Linked DNA regions of Homo sapiens: region 1 is linked to region 2. The links are contacts of gene promoters, found by promoter capture Hi-C in blood cells and fetal thymus (Javierre and others, 2016). All regions are on one chromosome and are shown on one strand. The core of a region is centred on a gene start or on the middle of the fragment in contact, and the rest is flanking DNA. Distances in the headings are between cores, read along the strand shown. Region 1 overlaps ATP5F1B (ATP synthase F1 subunit beta). Region 2 holds the start of SP1 (Sp1 transcription factor).

What was found. The method cuts DNA at HindIII sites, captures the fragments that hold promoters and counts their contacts. A CHiCAGO score of 5 or more calls a contact.
Region 1: a contact is called between a fragment that was not itself captured here and the fragment with the promoter of SP1 in region 2, in 1 of 17 cell types (total B cells). The highest score is 5.8, in total B cells.

Annotation. Positions count from the first base shown.
Region 1 is chr12:56,635,984-56,640,090 of GRCh38, reverse strand. It overlaps ATP5F1B (ATP synthase F1 subunit beta), which reads left to right. Exons shown (of 10, transcript NM_001686.4): 8 at 1-111; 9 at 784-985; 10 at 1,668-1,916. The coding sequence ends at 1,768. It also overlaps a transcript of BAZ2A not described here. Among named protein-coding and RNA genes, the nearest start is that of SNORD59B, 5.7 kb to the left of the region's middle. RefSeq lists enhancers at 2,912-3,206, 2,699-3,210, 3,184-3,353. The HindIII fragment of the contact is 1,353 bases long and covers 1,821-3,173 here.
Region 2 is chr12:53,377,955-53,382,363 of GRCh38, reverse strand. SP1 (Sp1 transcription factor) reads right to left here and starts at 2,188. Exons shown (of 6, transcript NM_138473.3): 1 at 2,066-2,188; 2 at 551-705; 3 at 1-254. The coding sequence starts at 2,072. RefSeq lists enhancers at 1-243, 656-1,414, 2,265-2,559, 2,392-2,691, 2,595-3,095 and a silencer at 1,522-2,151. The HindIII fragment of the contact is 463 bases long and covers 2,046-2,508 here.

The sequences.
Region 1 (4,107 bases), core at 1,248-3,747, 3.3 Mb before region 2:
GGCATCTATCCAGCTGTGGATCCTCTAGACTCCACCTCTCGTATCATGGATCCCAACATTGTTGGCAGTGAGCATTACGATGTTGCCCGTGGGGTGCAAAAGATCCTGCAGGTGAGTATATTACTATGTGGGATCAGTGTCCGGAAAGTCAAAAAGAGGGCCTGTGGGGACTATATGAGGACTGGATCTTTCTTAGTGATTTGTTTTGGAGCAAGGAAAGTTGAGGCTGGCAATTGCTAGTGAGAGCTAATGAGGTCTCTTGAGTTTCCAGGTACTTAACGCTTTGGAATGCAATATTTTTCTTTCTTTTTTTTTTTTTTTGAGATGAGTCTCACTGTGTCTCCCAAGCTGGAGTGCAGTGGTGCCATCTCGGCTCACTGCAACCTCCGCCTCCCAGGTTCAAGCGATTCTCCTGCCTCAGCCTCCTGAGTACCTGGGATTACAGGTGCGCGCCACCATGCCTGGCTACTTTTTGTATTTTTAGTAGAGACCAGGTTTCATCAGTTGGTCAGGCTGGTCTCGATCTCCTGACCTCATGATCCACCCACCGTGGCCTCCCAAAGTGGTGGGATTACAGACGTGAGCCACTGCGCCCGGCGGAATGCAATATTTTTCTAACAGCACCAAACTAGGACTATGGAGAACAAGACACTGATCTTTCTTGGCTGAGGGCCCTCATAACACCACCACCTTCTCTGCCCCCTAGCATGTAACTTTCCCTTTGTTAGCTTGTCCAAATTAAAGGAATGAGAATACTTAACTCAGTCTTCTTTTTTCTCATAGGACTACAAATCCCTCCAGGATATCATTGCCATCCTGGGTATGGATGAACTTTCTGAGGAAGACAAGTTGACCGTGTCCCGTGCACGGAAAATACAGCGTTTCTTGTCTCAGCCATTCCAGGTTGCTGAGGTCTTCACAGGTCATATGGGGAAGCTGGTACCCCTGAAGGAGACCATCAAAGGATTCCAGCAGATTTTGGCAGGTGAGATTTTGAGTACAAATCTTGAATGTTTACTGTGCTGTGGTCCCATTCCAACAACCGTCAAGCAATATATGTAATATACTATGCTTAATTATATTTTTTAATTTAAAAAACAAACTTACCCATTGATTTTGTTTGAAAATACTCTACATTTAATTTGAGTGTGATTTGTTACTTGATTCTCTAGCTCCCTTTTATTTTATATGTATTTTTTGAGACTGAGTCTCTGTCGCCCAGGCTGGAGTACACTGGTGCAATCTTGGCTCACTGCAACCTCCACCTGCCGGGTTCAAGTGATTCTCCAGCCTCAACCATCCAAGTAGCTGGGATTACAGGCACACGCCACCACGCCTGGCTAATTTTTGTATTTTTAGTAGCCATGGGGTTTCACCATGTTGGCTGGGCTTGTCTCGAACTCCTGACCTTAGGTGATCCGCCTGCCTTGGCCTCCCAAAGTGCTGGGATTACAGGTGTAAGCCACCGTGCCTGGCCCATGTGTTCTTAATTCATACTGTATCATATCTTGTAAATTTGATTTGTGAGGGAAATTTAAGCTTTCTAAGATGACATGAATTCATCACATTCTAACTGATGGCCTGAAGTGGTGAGGAATGTTACATGATGCAGAAAGTTGATATCCCTCCGCTTCTTACTCTTTTTTTTTTTCTCCCCCATCATACAGGTGAATATGACCATCTCCCAGAACAGGCCTTCTATATGGTGGGACCCATTGAAGAAGCTGTGGCAAAAGCTGATAAGCTGGCTGAAGAGCATTCATCGTGAGGGGTCTTTGTCCTCTGTACTGTCTCTCTCCTTGCCCCTAACCCAAAAAGCTTCATTTTTCTGTGTAGGCTGCACAAGAGCCTTGATTGAAGATATATTCTTTCTGAACAGTATTTAAGGTTTCCAATAAAATGTACACCCCTCAGAATTTGTCTGATTCTCTTGGTTCTGACAACATAGTCAACACTGAAGGGTTATGTATTTAATTTTAGTTTTAGAGACACGGTGTCTGGCTGTGTTGCCAAGACTGGTCTCTAACTCCTGGGCTCGAGATCTCCCACCTCAGTCTCCTGAGTAGCTGGGGCTACAGGTGTATGTAGTCTCACATCACCAGCACTGTTTTCAACAATTAGATTTTTAGAGTGGCTATAAGAAGCAGTTTCAGCATGAAGTGGGCCATGTATGTTTGAAATTGGTCCTTAAAAATAGCCATTCTCTTTTGTTGATGGACAACCGTACCTCTTGTGAGGGGTTTCCTGTGGGTAGTGTGATCTTAGTAGGGCCTCAGTTTTGGGCCTTTTGTTCAATACAAATTGATTTTTTTTTTTTTTTGGCCTCTATTCCATGTGGCACATCCCTACTTCTTGGTTAAAAATAGGACTTTTTTGAAGGGCATATTGGGAAAAACTCGTTTTAGAAATAACTTATTTCCAGGGGTTAATCTGAGTTTAATGAATTAAATTTTCAAGAAATAGTGATGAAGAATACTGATCTTTGTTAAAATGGAATCAAAAGGGTTCTCTACATCTTGGTTAGGCCTTCATGTCTTCAGAAAGTGTACTTAACTACTTCCTGACATTTTGGGCAAGCCTAAATAAAAGTTGCTTGTGATTCCTTGAGGCTATGCAGAGGCATATAATACCATAAGGCCTAGTCCACCCTCTGTGAAGATCCCCTTATGAAAGTCCAGAAAAGATAATCTTACAAGGGAATAGCAATTTTCAGAGTTGCTGGCTTGGGCTTCTAAACTAATGAAGTTAGGTTATTTTCCCTTCATTTTAGCCGACTGAGAGGTGCAGGGGTAGAAGATATATTTTACCATTTCAATTTAAAAGAAGCGTGCAAGGTCAGATTGGGTTCCTCTTGTGTTCTTTTCCGGGACCAGACCCATCCGACTGCCCTCTCGCGGTAGCACTGGAGACTCTGCAAGAACTCTGATCCCATTTTCAAATCCATGAAGGCCATTTGCTGGGATGTGGCTCTCAGTTAAAGACTGTTTACAGACCAGCTGGGGCTTTTGTCCTGGGGAGGAGCCTGTATCTATAAGCTCCACCCGCTGAGTCCATCAAGTTAGGTAGAAGCTGGGCGGGGACAAGCTGAGCTCCAATTCAGAGGCCCCTGGGGGCTGAAGGTTGGGGAGGGCTTTTTGGCGCGGGGCCAGGGGTGGAGTAGGGGCCTCTAAGCTTCCTTCCATCTGCCTGTGACGTCCTTGGCAGCAGCCTCTCCCGCAGTCTCTCCTGTGTCATGATCTGGACAGAAGGTGGAGCCCCTGAGCTGCTTGTGCTGGTAGTTTGCTCCCAGAAAAGCTGGGATTTGGGGAAATGCTGAGTTATGGGGGTGTGGACACTTCCTCTAGGTCCTGACTCTGGAGTGGGTAAGAAGCTGGTAGAAAAAGCCCTAGGGTACAGGTCAGCCCTTTCTGCTTTGTTTTCTCACGTCACCCGATACAGACCTGGGAACTGAAATCCTAAAGGTCTTTTGCATCCCTCCACCCCTTCCCCCAACATGTTCACGTCCTTCAGCGTTTATCGAGAACCTTCTCCCTCTCAGTAGCTGCAACTATTTGTTTCCTTCCCCCTTTGCCGGCCTCTTCTACCATGCCACTGGAGTGTCAACACAGCTCTCTAACCTTCCTCCATATTTCTCCTGGTCTGCCCTGTCCTCGCCTCCTCCCTCTCTCCACCCAGAGAAAGCCCCGCCCTTCCCTCCTCCCTCCCCACCCCAGTCTGTCACACAGGGACATCACCCTACAGCAGTTCAGGCTGTGTGGTTCGCAGGAAGCATACACTGGCTTTTTGATTCTTGCTAGTTCCCAGCTCACAGTTTGGGAGGATCCAACACCAACCTTTACGTGAAGTGGAGGCCCAAGGACAGTGAGGAGCTGGGTGGTCCCAGCCTGGAGCTGTGCCAGCCTGACATGGGTGAGTATGGGGACCAGCCCCGGGGAAGGCCTGAGGGATGCCTACTCCCTCCCTGGCTGACTCAGCAGGGGTGGGGCCTAACCTTTGCTCATTTGGGGGCTGAAGGAGAGGAAACAGGACTCTGGGGGACGGGGGGCACAGGGCTCAGCTAGCGAGGCTGCCGACCACGGGATCCTGAGTATGGGCAAGCCCCAGTTC
Region 2 (4,409 bases), core at 939-3,438:
TTCTTGGAAGACTCACTGCCATTGCTGCCATTGGTACTGCTGCCACTCTGTTCCTTTGAGGTAGGGGTAGCCCCAGAGGAGGAAGAGATGATCTGCCAGCCATTGGCACCCTGTGAAAGTTGTGTGGCTGTGAGGTCAAGCTCACCTGTTCCCCCTGACTGACTCGGGCCCTGGGAGTTGTTGCTGTTCTCATTGGGTGACTCAATTCTGCTGCAAGTTGCTGCCAGCAGAGCCAAAGGGGATGGCTGGGACTCCTGGCCGAAAATAAGGGAGAGGAAAGGAGTTAGTGACACCCAGCTGCCAGCCTAGGGGGCAGTATACAACAAATAAACAGCAACGTAGTGCAGACAAGGAGCAAAAAACAGAAACAAAAAGCTGACCTATCTGTATTGCTGAAACTCCTTTGTCTTTGGGGATCTCCATTCTCTTACTTCCTTATCTATAAAATGGTTTAGTCTCTCCCTAAAACGCTTTCTGTGAAGAGTAAGGCAATTATCTAAGAATATTTACATCTTCTCAACACCTTCCCCACTCTATGATTATCACTTACCTGCCCTCCTCCTCCAGTGCTGCTGCTACTGCCTGTGCTGCTACTTCGAGCCTGTGAAAAGGCACCACCACCATTACCATTGCCCCCATTATTGCCACCAACTCCTTTTTCAATTTTCACCACAGCTGTCATTTCATCCATGGAGTGATCTTGGTCTAAAATAATTAAAAAACAAACAACGTAAACTTGAGGGAAGAAAAGAAATGAAGTAGGAAGGATAAAAGGAGGCTATGATGAAATAGCAATGACTAACAGGAAGGCGAAAGCCACCAGTATAAAGAAAATGGATTGGAGGGCAGAGGGGAGCTGCAGGGCATGCAGGACATGAACTAGGTTCAATGTGCCAAAAGTGGGCCTTAATTCTCCCTTGTACAAAATTAAACTAAGAAAACATTCAAAAAGTGCTTTGGGGATAGGAAATGTGAAGGACGGTAGGCATGGTGAGAGTTTCTAAATAAGAAAAAGTATCCTAAGGGAAAAAAAGGAAAAGGACAGGTAAGGCATAAAACAACATGTGGGTGCATGGAAAGCTTGCTAAAATTAAGTTTAAAAGAGATGGAGAGGCCAGGCGCGGTGGTCACGCCTGTAATCCCATTACTTTGGGAGGCGGAGGCAGGCAGATCACCTGGGGTCGGGAGTTTTGAGACCAGCCTGACCAACATGGAGAAACCCTGTCTCTACTAAAAATACAAAATTAGCCGGGTGTGGTGGCGCATGCCTGTAATTCCAGCTACTCCCGGAGGCTGAGGCAGGAGAATCGCCTGAATCCGGGAGGCAGAGGTTGCAGTGAGCCGAGATCGCACCATTGCATTCCAGTCTGGGTAACAAGAGCGAAAACTCCGTCTCAAAAAAAAAAAAAAAAAAAAAGACAAACAAAAATCCAAGTGTGAAAAGTAACGAGAGGGGAAAAAGAAGTAAAAAGTGTGAGTAGAAAAACATTTGTGAATACTGCTAAGGAACTAAAGGGATCTACAGGTTAGTAGTCAGAAGGTTTCGGGGCGGAGGGCGGGCCCTGAGGGAAAGGGCGGTTTCGGGGTGAGGGGCGTGGAAAGGGCGGGACGGTGGGGGGCGGGGGGGAAGGGAAATCTACGGAAAGTGGGGGGAGGAGGGCCTTGGAGCAGGCGGCGACCAGAGGGCGGACCAGGCAGGCGGTTGGCCCGGGCGGGGCCTTCGCTGCTCGGGCCGCCCCCGCGGCTCCAGCCCCCGGCGGGAGGAGCCTCAGGCGGGCGGCCGAGTAGTGGGGGGTAAGGCCCGTCCCCCGTGGCCGGGGCGGGCAGGGGGCGGGCGAGGCCACGCTGCCCCCTCCCCCGGGGCGGGCGGCCCATCCCCCTCCTCCTCGGAGGCCCCGCCACTGCCCCGTCTCCCTCCCTTCCCTCCGCCCCGGGCGGGACCTAGGCCGCCGCCGCCGCCGCCTCCCGCCCGCCCCCGCTTCACGGCGGGGATCGCCCGGTCGGCCCTCGCGCGCGCCCCCTCACTCGCCTCCCACCCCTAAGCTTGGAGTGGACTCATCCTTACCGCTCATGGTGGCAGCTGAGGGACAAGCTCAAGGGGGTCCTGTCCGGGGGGGTTGGGGGGGGCCGGGAAAAACGCGGACGCTGACGAGGCAAGCGAACCCGGACCGGACAGGGAGGGGGGGGTAAGGAGGAGGGAGCAGCGCGCCACAAGCCCAACCTAGGCCCCGCCCCTTCTCTGCTGCCCCGCCCAATGAGGGAGGGGGAAAGGAGGGACTTGCAGAAGAAAGACGGTGGAATTATCCAATGGCAAGACTCGCTTGCTCTCCAAGGCGTGTGAGACTAAGTTGCGTGCCTGGTGTCCGCCTAAAAAGACCGCCCTCTCAGTGTTAAAAGCCAATGAAGGATGCAGGAAGTGAAGATGGGCGGGAGCTGGAGATGATTGGCTTGGAAGGAAACCAGTCAACCGGCAGGCGGGCTCCCTGAGACGTAGGGATAGGCAAAGCTTTGATAGGAATGACAGAACAACGGCCAACCAGAATCCGGGATATGCTTGGGCAAAATCCTAGTGGGCGGAGAGGTAAGAAGTAGGCAGGAATAGGAGAGGATGAAGCTGATTAAAACCAATCAGAAATCAGGCGGGCAGCCAGGAACGTTATGATTGGAGTTAGACTGAAAAGAGACAGGAAAGGACGCATATTGACGTGAACTAAAAGCCAATTAAACGCCGAATTAACTGAGGGCGGAAACTTGGAGTGGCAGAGGAGAATTGGCGGCTCCCTCAGTTATTCAATCCAATGAGGGGACGAAGTAGGCCTGGCACCGCCTCCTAGTTAGCCAATGGGCGTTACTGGAGCTGCCCATCATGAGGGAGGGAAGAGGGCTATGCCAAGAGGAGACCGTCGCCATATTGGCCCTCCTCAGGGGACGTTGTTACAGTCATTAGGTGGGACGCTTTAGCGGAGTCCTGCAGCTCAACAGGTGTCAGAGCCAAGGCATTCGGCGCGCAGTTCCGCATCAACACTAGGACTTGTTTGCGTCTTCATTTAACTGCCCCTATAAAGTACCTCTCAAATCTTACCCCCCTCCCGGGTGGTCGGACAGGCGGGCAGATGCCTCAATGTCGCTGCAAGCCCTGGGAATGCAGGCGGGACGAGATCTGGTGACAGCACTCACCGAATAAGTTAATACTGAGCTGACCAATATGCAGAGTCTCCGTGAGACTCCAGAAAACGCGATTTTATTAAGTTCCCCCAGACAAAGGCGCTAACCACTTAAACGACTGGTTAACTTTTCAAGCCTTGAGGCTAAAGTGCGGATAAGTCACTTCCATTTTTTCCCCCTTAATAGTAAATACCGCCTATGCATAAAGCAAGATAGCTGAGCTCCAGCTTTTTGCAATCACGAAGGTTAAGAAACTTTACTGCAGGCACCTGGATTTCTGGCCTCCTCTTTATCCGTGTTTTGGTGGAGCCGGCCTTAATAGCTTGTCAATGACACGATGAGGTCATGTCCTTCAGTATTTGTATCTTATATGTTGTCACCTGCTTATATGTTCTTATGTTTTAAAATGTGAATTCTCCTAAACTATTTTAAGCCCTTTGAAGGTAAGAACTGAGGCCTCTGCTGCTTTAAACAGGTAAAAAGGTGAAGTGATTGCTGACTGCCTACCGTGTTAGGTGCCTAAGTCAGGGAGGCAGTTAGTATTCCATGTCATCCTTAAAAGGAAGATTTTATTAAGTATCAGCTATATTATGTATTTTATAAGTGAAGACATTTAGGCTGAGAAGTGACTTACCCAAGGTCACAAAGCAAATGAGTTGTAGTGTTAGATTCCAACCCAGAATAGTTCCACCAAAAGTTTTCTATAAATTCTTGAGGGAATTAAACTGCCGCCGGGCGCAATGGCTCAGACCTGTAATCCCAGCACTATGGGAGGCCGAGGCGGGCGGATCGCTTGAGCCCAGGAGTTAAAGACCAGCCTGGGCAACATGGTGAAACCCCGTCTCCACAAAAAATAACAAAAATTAGCCAGACGTGGTGATGTGCGCCAGTAGTCCCAGCTACTCGGGAGGCTGGGGTGGAAGAATCGCTTGAACCCAGGAGGTTGAGGCTGCAGTGAGCTCAAATCCTGCCACTGCACTCCAGCCAGGACAACAAAGCAAGACCTTGCTCCAAAATAAGTAAATATATAGACTGGGCGCGGTGGCTCATGCCTGTAATCCCAGCATTTTGGGAGGCCGAGGCAGGCGGATCACCTGAGGTCAGGAGTTCAAGACCAGCTTGACCAACATGGAGAAACCCCGTCTCTACTAAAAATATAAAACTAGCCAGGCATGGTGGGACATGTCTGTAATCCCAGCCACTTGGGAGGCTGAGGCAGGAGAATCGCTTGAATCCAGGAGGCA